Linked DNA regions of Homo sapiens: region 1 is linked to region 2. Evidence: promoter capture Hi-C in 16 types of primary human blood cells and fetal thymus (Javierre and others, 2016). All regions are on one chromosome and are shown on one strand. Each heading gives the region's core, a stretch centred on a gene start or on the middle of the fragment in contact. The rest is flanking DNA. Distances are from core to core; before and after follow the strand shown. Region 1 has its middle 16 kb from the start of OR6F1. Region 2 holds the start of OR14C36 (olfactory receptor family 14 subfamily C member 36).

What was found. Contacts are between HindIII fragments. The CHiCAGO score rates a contact against its expected background, and 5 or more counts as called.
Region 1: a contact is called between a fragment that was not itself captured here and the fragment with the promoter of OR14C36 in region 2, in 1 of 17 cell types (M2 macrophages). The highest score is 6.9, in M2 macrophages.

Annotation. Positions count from the first base shown.
Region 1 is chr1:247,697,137-247,703,547 of GRCh38, forward strand. No RefSeq gene overlaps it. Among named protein-coding and RNA genes, the nearest start is that of OR6F1, 16 kb to the right of the region's middle. The HindIII fragment of the contact is 741 bases long and covers 4,102-4,842 here.
Region 2 is chr1:248,347,108-248,352,943 of GRCh38, forward strand. OR14C36 (olfactory receptor family 14 subfamily C member 36) reads left to right here and starts at 1,668. Exons shown (of 1, transcript NM_001001918.1): 1 at 1,668-2,606. The coding sequence starts at 1,668. The coding sequence ends at 2,606. The HindIII fragment of the contact is 2,948 bases long and covers 1,651-4,598 here.

The DNA of each region.
Region 1 (6,411 bases), core at 3,222-5,721, 650 kb before region 2:
AAAGATCTCCTAATTTTTAGTGGAAGATGGGTGTGGAGAGAGGAAACAAGCCTCATAGAAGCCTGTATCCCATAATTAACCTAAAATCAGTCTCAGAAGAAAGGACTTCAAAAGAGAGGATAAAGATAAATGAACTTAGACATCCCAACAGTGACAGCAGGGCAGGCAGAACGTAGGCCATACATAGGCTTTCTGACCTCCAGAGTTGCTTAACACCTGGTCTTTGTGGCTTCTTTCATACTCTGGGAGAGAAATGGTGTGCTACCAAGCAGGAGACATTGATTCAAAGTACATTCTGCAGGCTGCAACTCTATCTCCCTTATAACCTGGCTATCAAATCAACCAAGGCGTGAGGGAAGGTGGAGGACAAGGGAGATGTGAGGGAGCAGGCCTTGCCTGTTCTTGGATCCTTGACAGACAGCTCTTCTAGCCTTTGTTCAAGATTCCTATGAAGAGTCTTCATTCTGTAATTGGGTTTACCTGTGTAGTCAATCAGCGGGGTCACTTCTTGTCAGCCCCCTTCCACCCAGTCCCCAAGTGTCCTGCTAGGGCACCTCCTCTTTCCATACAAATGTGGCCTCCAGATCAAGAATTCATTGACTATGGTCCTCTCCCATGGGAGGATGTACACATAGGAATTGTTCACTCTCTATTTGAGGGCTGTGAAGATGCTGCAAATGACAACTAGAATAAATACAGAGCACATGAGCTGTGAAAAGCCCATGACTCCGTATAACAGGAATTCTTGCTGTTAGGTGGCAGGCTTCCCTGTGTGTACCCTGTTAGAAAAATACATGATATTATACATGAAAAACCATAATCAATGATAAAATGAATATCAACAATAAAATAATTCAACATGGTAGCAGGATATAAAGTTAAGATGCAAAAGTCAGTAGCATTCATATAACAAATGGTAGCCATAAAATGTAATGAATAGTTAAAACCCAACTTACCAAAAATTGATCTGAATCCATGTGAAGAAAACCATAAAACATCCTGAAAGATACCAGATAGACAAGGCAAGGACTAGAACAGTATGGACCATTTCTTCTCACTCCACTCTACTAAGCACAAATATAAAACCTGGACAACTATAAAAGTGAAACCACAGAGGAACGTTTAAATGTGGTAGGAAGAATGCAACCTAGTTTGGGAACCCAAAACTGGATGAACAACACAGTGATGGGGTATCCTAGTCCCCCACTTGACTCAAGAAGGAGAAACAGACCCAATCTTTTTAAATTCCCAACATACCAACAAACACAGACCAGCTAGGCTTACCCTCCCACAGGTCAAACCATACTGCATTACTATAAGAGCAAGAGCAAAATGATCTCACTAACAATTAGAAGGCAAGGGAAGCACTCTACACTCTTGTCAGGCCTGAGACCCTCCAATCCATCTAAACCTGCTAACCCTACTGCTGAGCAGAGCCAGCAAGAGGGACTCTACCAAAAGGAGTAATATTTCTGGAAAGTCTCTATCCCCCAGCCCCTAGAACAGCAGTCCTTAACCTTTTTGGCACCAGGGACCAGTTTTGGGGAAGACAATTTTTCCACAGGTGGAGGAGGTTAAGGGAGGATTCAAGTGCATTACATTTATTGTGCACTTTATTTCTATTATATATATATATATATATATATATATATATATATATATATATATATTTATTTATTTATTTACAACTCACCATGATGTAGAATCAGTGGGAGCCCTGAGCTTGTTTTCCTGCAACCAGACAGTCCCATCTGGGCATGATGGGAGACAGTGACAGATTATCAGGCATTAGATTCTCACTGGAGTGCACAATCTAGATCCCTCGCATGCACAGTTCACAGTAGGGCTCACACTCCTATGAGAATCTCACGCCATCGCTGATCTGACAAGAGGCGAGATCAGGAACCATAATCGTCTGTGGCCAGGGGATTGGGGACCCCTGCCATGGGAGACCCCAAAGTAGCCAAAGACCACCAGCAAATATGATTATCCCAAAATAGGCACAGTGAGAGGTCAAGGAAACCTCTTTTCTCCAGAAACCTGATACTCCTCTCCCATGCCAATTGGGCCTATCACTACTGATCCTTCAGCTATTGAAAAGACAATACAACCAACTTTATGCTCATAAATTCAACAACTTAGAAAAAAGAATAGACCAATTTCTTAAAAATTGTAAACTACCTAAACTCAACGAAGATGAAAGAGGTAATATGAATATTCCCATAACCACTAAGGAAATTTAATTTATAAATTAAAGCCTCTGACAGAGACATTTTCAGTCCAAAATGGTTCACTAAAGAATTGACCAAACTTTTAAAGAAAATATTAATGTGGATTTTATACAATATCTTATGAGGTTAATTTTTGTTTTGTTTTGTTTTGTTTTTGAGACAGAGTTCGCTCAGTAGCCCAGGCTGGAGGGCAATGGCACGATCTCAGCTCACTGCAACCTCCACCTCCCGGGTTCAAGCGATTCTCCCATCTCAACCTCCTGAGTAGCTGGAATTACAGGAACCTGCAATCCTGCCTGGCTAATTTTTGTATTTTTAGTAGATACGGGGTTTCACCATATTGGCCAGGCTGGTGTTGAACCCCTGACGTCAATTAATACAACAAAGAAAATATAAAAACAGTACACACAAAAAAAATTACACTATTTCTTATGACCAGTGACTCTTATGAGCCTAGATATAAAATCTTTAACAAAATATGAAAACAAATCTAACAATGTATAAAAAGTATGGGATAACACAACAAAGGACATTTACTCCAGGTATGCAAGCTTAGTTCAATATTTGAAAATTAATAGAATCAACTATGTTAACAGGGAAAAGATGCAGCAAAAGCATTTGTCGAAATTCAGCTCTTATTTATAATCATTTTATTTAAAATTTTCAGTAAGTCAAAAATAGACAAATTATCTTAACCTGCTGAAGACCATCTACAAAAAATCTACAGGTAACATCAGACTTAATAAAGACTAAATGCTTTTCCAAATAGTAGGGAACAAGGTAAGAATGTCCATTTTCATCTTTCTTACTCAATAAAAAGGTACTGGAAGTTCTAGCTTCTATAATAAGAGAAGGAAAAATAATAAAAGGTATAGAGATCGGAAAAGAAGAAAGAAAACAATCTCTAGTTGCAGATGACATTTTGTCTATGTAGAAATTCCCAAAGAATCTGCAAAAAAAAGATAAACATCCAATTTTAAAAGGATCATAAGACATGGATAGATATTTCACTAGAGAGGATATACACATGGCAAATAAACACATGAAAATATGTTCAAAATGACTAGCCATTAAATAAATGTAAATTTAAACTGTCACGGGCTATCAGAATGACTATTTTTTTTTTTAAATCAGGATAAAGAAAAACTGGATTGCTTATGCATTGCTAGTGGGAATGTAAAATGGTACGGTGCCTCTGGAAAACAGGTTCATCAGGTTCTTATAAAACTCAACATGCAATTATTATACAATCCGACACTTCTACTCTTGGGTGTTAATCCCACAGGAATGAAGATACATATATATACATATATATTTCATATATGCATATATGTATATACATATATATGCAATATGTCCCATATATCTATATATACAATATGTCCCATATATCTATATATACATATATGTCCCATATAGCTATATATACATATATGCCATATATGTGCATACATATATGTATACACGTGCATACATAAATGTCCCATACATGTATACATGTATACACATACATGCCCCAGATAGGTATATGTGCATACATGTCCCATATATGTATATGTACATATATGTATGCACATATATGCCATATATGTATGCACATATATGCCATAGATGTATATATGTATATATACACATATGTATATATGGGTATATAAACATATATGTCATATGTATATATACACATATATGTCATGTATATATACACATATATGTCATATGTATATATACACATATATGTCATTTGTATATATACACATATATGTCATTTGTATATATACACATATATGTCATTTGTATATATACACATATATGTCATTTGTATATATACACATATATATTACAAACTTGTACATGAAAGCTCGTAGATAGAAGCTTTCTTCATAATTTTCAAAAAGTGAAAGCATCCCAGAAGTCCTTCAATAGGTGAATGGTTAAATGAACTGTGAAACATACATAGCATCGTATGCTACTTGAAATAAAAAGAAGTAAACTATTGATATACATAACAATTTTGATAATCTCAAAGAAACCATGCTGAGTAATAAAAGGTAATACTATAATATTACAAGTTGTATGATCCACTTATAAAACATTGTTGAGATAATAAAATGTTAGGAAAGGAAACAGATTGGTGGTTGCCAGCGATAAAGGATAAGCAGTGGAAAGGAAGTGGTTGCTATAAAAGGGCAACATAAGAGGTCCTTTTGGTGATGGAACTGTTTATTATCTTTGCTACAGTGGTGGATAAACCTTCACATGTGATAAAATTATACAGAAATAAATTCACACACACAAATAAGTGAAAGTAAAACTGGGGAAATTGGAATAAGATTGTGAATTTTATCAATGTCAATTGCTGTTTGTGATATTGTACTAAAGTTTTGCAAAATGTTACCATTGTGAGAAACTAGTAAACTGTACCAAGAACCTCTTAGTATTATTTCTTAAAACTACATGTGAAACTAAAATGACCTTATAATAACAAATTTTAATGGAAAAGTATACTTGCATAAATTGAAATGTAATCTATGTTCTAAGTTAGAAAGTCTCATGAAATGGTCAGTTCTAAAGTTATTTTTATACATTTAATACAAAAGCAATGAAAACTGCAAGCTTTTTGGTCAAGCTAGACACATGATCCTAAATCATGAAAAAGTAAATACGTAATATCAACTAGAAAAATACTGAGCAGAAATAGTTAGGAGGCAGGATTTGCTGTATTAAATTTTAAAATTACTGCTGAGAGTATAATAGAATAATGAGGCATTGGAGCCTGTTTGAAAGGAGAGAAGAAGGAAAGAGACCAGGAAGTGAGGGGAGGGAGATAGAAGACAAACCTAGAAATAGGTCCTACTACATATAGAAATTTAACATATGATAAAATCACTATTGCAAATTACTAGGGCAAAGATAGTTTTTTAAATATATGGAGTTAGAACAACTGTATAGTTATTTGCCAGAATCAAAATTAGATTCATTCCTCATGTTAACCACAGGAAAAAAAATGGTTCAGAGATCTAAATGTAAAACTGGAAATGTGGCAATTACAAATACTAGGAAAAAATGGATTTTTTTTCTGTAATCTCAGAGTAGGGAATGGCCTTCTAACCAAGACTTAAAATCTATGTGCAATAGAAATATAATCTGTTTGACTACATAAAATTAAAGTAAAATACAGGGGAAAACACCATGAGCAGTTAAAAATAATGGAGAAAAAATATGTGTGGCATACATTATAGGTGAAAGGCTAACATCCTTAATATATAAAAAGATTAAACATTGACTAAAGATTTTTAAAATCTATGGAAAATTGCAAAAGATATTAGAGCAATTCATATAGAGATATGAAAATCGTTATTAGATATATTTTTAATGGTGAATTTCACAATAATAAGATAAATGCAAATTAAAACAACCTTAAGATACCACTTCTCATGAAACTGGCAAAAATGCAAAACCTTGACAGGGCATTCTGTTGATGGGAATGTGGAGAAACAGGCATTCTCACATATTATTCATGATAATACAAATGATGCAACCCCATTTTGGAAATTTGGGTTATATCTAACAAAACTAACTAAACATCGACCCAATAATTTGCTGATAACCAGAAAATAGATCTCTGACAGTACAAAAAAGATGTAGAAAATTATTCATCATAGCACTATTTATAATTGCTAAATATTGCAAAATAACTTCAATATTCAGGCATAGAAAATTGATTGAATAAGCTTTTGTACATCTACACAATGGAAGCATTATGCAAATGTAAGAAAAGAATGCGGTAGATCTGTATATAGCGTTTCAAAGAAATATTGCTAAGTGAAAAAAGCTAACTACTAAAAAATATAGAGTACAACCTCTTGTATAGAAAGAAAAGGAAAATAGAGAAAGCATATCTGCTAGCCTACAAATGAAAACACAGAAAATAAAAGTAAAAAACATTTTAGTGTATTAGCTACAATAGGTGAAAAGTGGGAAGAAGTAAAAGGTATAGGGCAGGGAATATCCCTTCTTGCATGTATCTTCTTGTGCATTTTTGACTTGTGAAGCATGTTAATATTCTTCATATTCAAAACATAAAATCTATAACAATGAGAAACATGGAAGTCCTAAAACTGAAAGAAAATGAAAGCAAATAAACTCAAGCATACTTGAAATGAATATCAGATACACACTG
Region 2 (5,836 bases), core at 418-2,917:
AGTCTTTTCTAATAAAATTTAAATTTCATGAGATTTAGGCACTTATTCTGTTTCATTTATTCACAAAACTCCTGTGATAGCAGCATTAGGTGTATATATTGATTGAACAATCAGTGAATCAAGGACTACGTCACTGAATGAGCCCATATTGTTTAAATTGATCACAGTAGTACACACCATGATTCTGCTTTTACAGATGGAGGGAATTTTCCTTGGGTGAAGAATGTTGCCAACTTTACATGGCTGGTAAGTGGGAGTGATACAGCCCAAGCCTCCTGTCTCCCTCTTCTACAGTGAAGGTTCTGCTGAACCTTCCATGTGATAATTTGTCCTGCTTAAAAATATTTTGGACACATACTGTATTTACCTAATACAATAATACATGAAACTTATAGATGGTAAAATTCTAATTGGATCATCAACATAAAAGTATAAGGAAAAATTATCATTAGCTCATCATCATGAAAATATGAAGCCATTCTTTTTTCCCCCTTTTTTTAAAAATTAGCCTTTATTTTAAGTGCAGAGGTACATGTGCAGGTTTGTTATATAGGTAAACTTGTGTCACGGGTGTTTGTTGTACAGATTATTTCATCACCCAGGTATTAATCCTAGTAGCCACTAGTTATTTTTCCTGATCCTGTTATTTGAAAACTGACAGAGTCATTCAACTGGGCACAGTCTCCAAGTTATCTGCTGAATGCAACTGGTACAGAATAAGCACACGAGGTGGATGACTGTGGTGAAAGAGTAGCTGTTCAATCTGGACAGGTTTTTGCTTCCTGTGAAAAGGGAATAAAATACTAACTTTCAGGATTATTGAGAGTCTTAAATTGATATGTGAATTTTATCTAGAACATGTCTGGTAGTAGTATGTGCCCTCAAAATATTCCTACATACCAATAACAATATCGATGTTTCTGAAAATAATAACAAGAGACAGTTAAGGAACATTCATGATGTCCTAGACAATTTCCTAAGGATTTTATAAATCTTATCTCATCCTGATGAAGCACTATGACAGAAAGAACATTTTTTAGAGTTCTATAAAGGAATGGAGACTAAGCCTGTAACTAAAATGCCCATTTCACACTATGATGGAGACCAGTATTTTGAAGTAGCTAACTAAAAATCAAAGCTAGGATTTTAATCACTACAAATTATTGTGTATTTCCCCTCTATCTAAAGAACCTCAAGAAACTATCCAGAACATACATTTGTTCATTCAATTCTTAAGCATATAAAGACAATATCTTCATGATGTGGGTGAACAGTTTTGTTCTCTGTATCAGAATCTGTATTGATAAATAATTAGCGATAAGTATATTTGAGTGAAATAACTTATTAAAATATTTATTTAATATCAAATATAAGTAAATAACTTTATCTGACCCATGGAGGACACTAAGTTGCATAAAATTTAATTTTGAACAACTTCTAAACAACAGAAACAACAACAAAGCATCTGCCCAATTTGAATATAAAGAATATTATGTAGGTTCATAGAGGACCACTTGAGTTGCCTTCAAAAATGTAAGGACCAACAATGTAGATTACAACTAGAAAGGGATCAAGACTACGATATTTAAGAACCATCTTTCCATCATTTGATTCTTCGTGAGTGTTCAGGATTTCTGTTTCCCAGGTCCAAGCTTCATCATCCACCGATGCCCAATTCAACCACCGTGATGGAATTTCTCCTCATGAGGTTTTCTGATGTGTGGACACTACAGATTTTACATTCTGCATCCTTCTTTATGTTGTATTTGGTAACTCTAATGGGAAACATCCTCATTGTGACCGTCACCACCTGTGACAGCAGCCTTCACATGCCCATGTACTTCTTCCTCAGGAATCTGTCTATCTTGGATGCCTGCTACATTTCTGTTACAGTCCCTACCTCATGTGTCAATTCCCTACTGGACAGCACCACCATTTCTAAGGCGGGATGTGTAGCTCAGGTCTTCCTCGTGGTTTTTTTTGTATATGTGGAGCTTCTGTTTCTCACCATTATGGCTCATGACCGCTATGTGGCTGTCTGCCAGCCACTTCACTACCCTGTGATCGTGAACTCTCGAATCTGCATCCAGATGACACTGGCCTCCCTACTCAGTGGTCTTGTCTATGCAGGCATGCACACTGGCAGCACATTCCAGCTGCCCTTCTGTCGGTCCAACGTTATTCATCAATTCTTCTGTGACATCCCCTCTCTGCTGAAGCTCTCTTGCTCTGACACCTTCAGCAATGAGGTCATGATTGTTGTCTCTGCTCTGGGGGTAGGTGGCGGCTGTTTCATCTTTATCATCAGGTCTTACATTCACATCTTTTCGACCGTGCTCGGGTTTCCAAGAGGAGCAGACAGAACAAAGGCCTTTTCCACCTGCATCCCTCACATCCTGGTGGTGTCAGTCTTCCTCAGTTCATGCTCTTCTGTGTACCTCAGGCCACCTGCGATACCTGCAGCCACCCAGGATCTGATCCTTTCTGGTTTTTATTCCATAATGCCTCCCCTCTTTAACCCTATTATTTACAGTCTTAGAAATAAGCAAATAAAGGTGGCCATCAAGAAAATCATGAAGAGAATTTTTTATTCAGAAAATGTGTAAGAAACCCGAGAGGCTCACCCTAGGCTGTTTTGTGATATTCATGTTTTCAGGAATAAGTTGTAATAATTGATTGTGGTTATTAGATAAAATTGGTGTAAATTTAATAAATAAGGCTACTAAAATGCATCATGTATCAAAATCGATATTTCCTTTCAAAAGTTTTTGAATAATTTTAATATGCCATTGGGTAAAAAAATCTGGTGTTATGAAGAAGACAATTCTAATAGTACATGTTTTCAAGTTAATGACTCACTAAAAAAAATCATAAAGCCTAAAATATTATCTTTAAAAGTATTTTGTGTTAAAGTTCTGTTCTATATTCATCCACTCTTCAACTTTTGGTAAGTCCAAAATAAAAATGGTGTCAATTAATTTTCAAAAGCCATATTTAGTATTATAGAAGAAATGAAAACATTCAGTTGTGCATTCATTCAAAGTTAAATATGAGAAATGTATGTTTTTGGAGGACCATAAGAATATGAGTGAAATGCATACTGTGAAAAGATGAGTGGATTTGTCAGGTCATAGATGAGGGGATTAGTAACACTTTACATAGCTTCCCTTTTATGTTAAAGAAAAGCTCTAGATACATCATACTTATCAGCCCACGATTTTACTAAAAATGCATTCAAGTGCTTTGGGGATACATTTATTTTATTATCTGTTTTAAGTGGCTCACACCCTATATTCCAATTTATTATCAACTTCTTCTCCATACATCCATTAAGGCCTTTGAGGAGTTAATAGTATTGTCTTGTTTTGTGATGGTGTCATGTATCTGAAAGATTTATTTTGATGGCCAATAGTAACAGCCGTTATCTGGTAGCTTATATTGCAATAATCAGTAATCCCAAATTCTTAGTAGGATAATATAACAAAGGTTTACTTCTAGTTTATAGTATCTTTCAAATTCAGATCGTAAGCAGGGCTCTCTGTACTGTATATCCTTGAAAAATAAAATGCAAGATAAGAAGCCAGTCACACTGAAACATGATTTTAAGCGTTGACCAAAAAAATGCCAGTTGGAAAAGGTGATGGGAGCACCCACCTCAAAGCCTAAGCGACTATTTCATCTTAGAGCTGAACACATCACGTTTATGAGTTCTTTTGTGAATATGGAAATAACCCAAAGTATCCCCCTGCATGCCTTACCTGACTGTTTTGGCATCTGCTGTGGAAAGAGACCCTTGAGCTCACAAGCAAATGAACAATTGATAATATTTAAAAAGCAACCCAAGTCTTCATTTTGACAATAAGAGTTAATAATGAGTAATGTAAAATATATATTTGAAATAAAGATTTGAATATACATTATGACTTCAAGGGTCATCACAATTAAAGGATAAAGCACTCAGGTGAAATGAAATCCTAATGTACATTTGAAAACAAAGGAAGTCATAAAGGAGTTTTAACTTTCAGAAAATGATATTCATTTATTTTGAGTATTGGAAGGTAAATTTCCACAGGCAGGAACTGGTTACCCAAATGAAGAGAACACGGAAAAGTGCACACTGGTTTTGCTGCCTGTCCCAGTCATTTGGCCCAATGCGTTACATGGCCATACCTCCTGCAGAGGCGAGGGTGTTGACAGTTTCCCCACACCTGCAAAAAAAATGGGGGGATCAATGATGCCAGTGAGTGCTGTGAATGATCAATATCGCCCTAAATGAAAATATAAAATGTCAGATTCTGAATGTCTGTTGCTCATGCAATTCTACTATCCTGTATCCTGTATGTATCCTGATACAATGTGCGCATTTGTATCAGCAATTTTAAACCGTAAAATCTTTAGCATATTGCAACAAGAACTGTGCAACGTTCTTCAAATGCATTATCTTAGGCAACACTTTGATAACTTCATGTCATGGATAATAATGCTCCCTCATTGAGCAAATGAGTTTCTGAGTTTAGAAATATAATGCAAGATAGTCAATAGTACTCAGTTTGGAAACAGCCATATTTTGGATTCCTGATGCTGTTTATTGCCATGTAAGCTTCATCTTTTAACTTCTCTTGTTTTTGCTTATTTTTATTGTTGTTTGTGTTTATTGAATATATGTTTCATCCAGAAGTGACAGTCACTCCATTGAGGGTAAAGATTAGGGAGGTTTAGCCTCAACCTTTACACTTTTCTTTGAATACATATAACAAAGTGAAATTTCAGTTTTGAATTTTCTCTAAAACTCTTAAATTTCATTCCAGGCTCATTGATACAACTATAATGTTGGCTCCAACAATAAAATTTCACCACATATGTTCAGTTTCATTTGAAGAACATGGGGATTTAGGAAATCAATGTCTTTCTATGAATTCCACTGTGAGTCCAACATGGTTCTCCAAACTTACACATTATCTCATCAACCTACACAGTGGCACTTTGTTAGAATAATCATCTTTAGCATGTATATGAGAAACAGGAGGCAATAGGAATAAATTTGTTAGAAGTTGAATAAAACCAAAATTTAATTTTACTCCAAATCTCCTTCTTTAGAGAATGCAATTTATTGGTTACATCCTGAAATATATATATATACACACACATCTTATATATGCAAAATATTATGCATAACATTACATATATAACTATATTGCATATGTTTATATACATATTTACATACTCTATATTTACATATGTAATATGTATATGTAGATATATGTAATATTTATGTATTTAAGTACTTACATATATAAATATGTGCAAATACATATTAGGTATTACATATATAGGATGTATATATATTATATCACAGAATGAAACCAATAAATTGCATTCTCTAAAGAAGGAGATTTGGAGTAAATTTAAATTTTGGTTTTATTCAACTTTAACAAATGTATTCCTATTACCTCCTGTTTCCCATATGCATGCTAAAGACGATTGTTCTAACAATGTGCTACCATGTGGGTATGTAAATGTAGATATGTACATATATACATATAAAACATATAATATTACATATTAATATGTAGTAGAATTATATATGTGTATATGTATATTAGATTATATATAATTATCTATGTTCTCTAAAGTCCACTGATACTCAATGTCATGACTCAGGGTATCAGTAGAATTTAGAGATGAGGACATAAAAATGTGTTAGGAGAGAAACAACCTCACAAGGGGAAGACAGAAGGGAAGACACAAGGGAAAGACAAAGCACCTATTTATAGTTTCTTCCTGTGGCTTGGAAATTTTCACCACGTGGTGGCCTAAGTTTAGGAAGACTACTTTA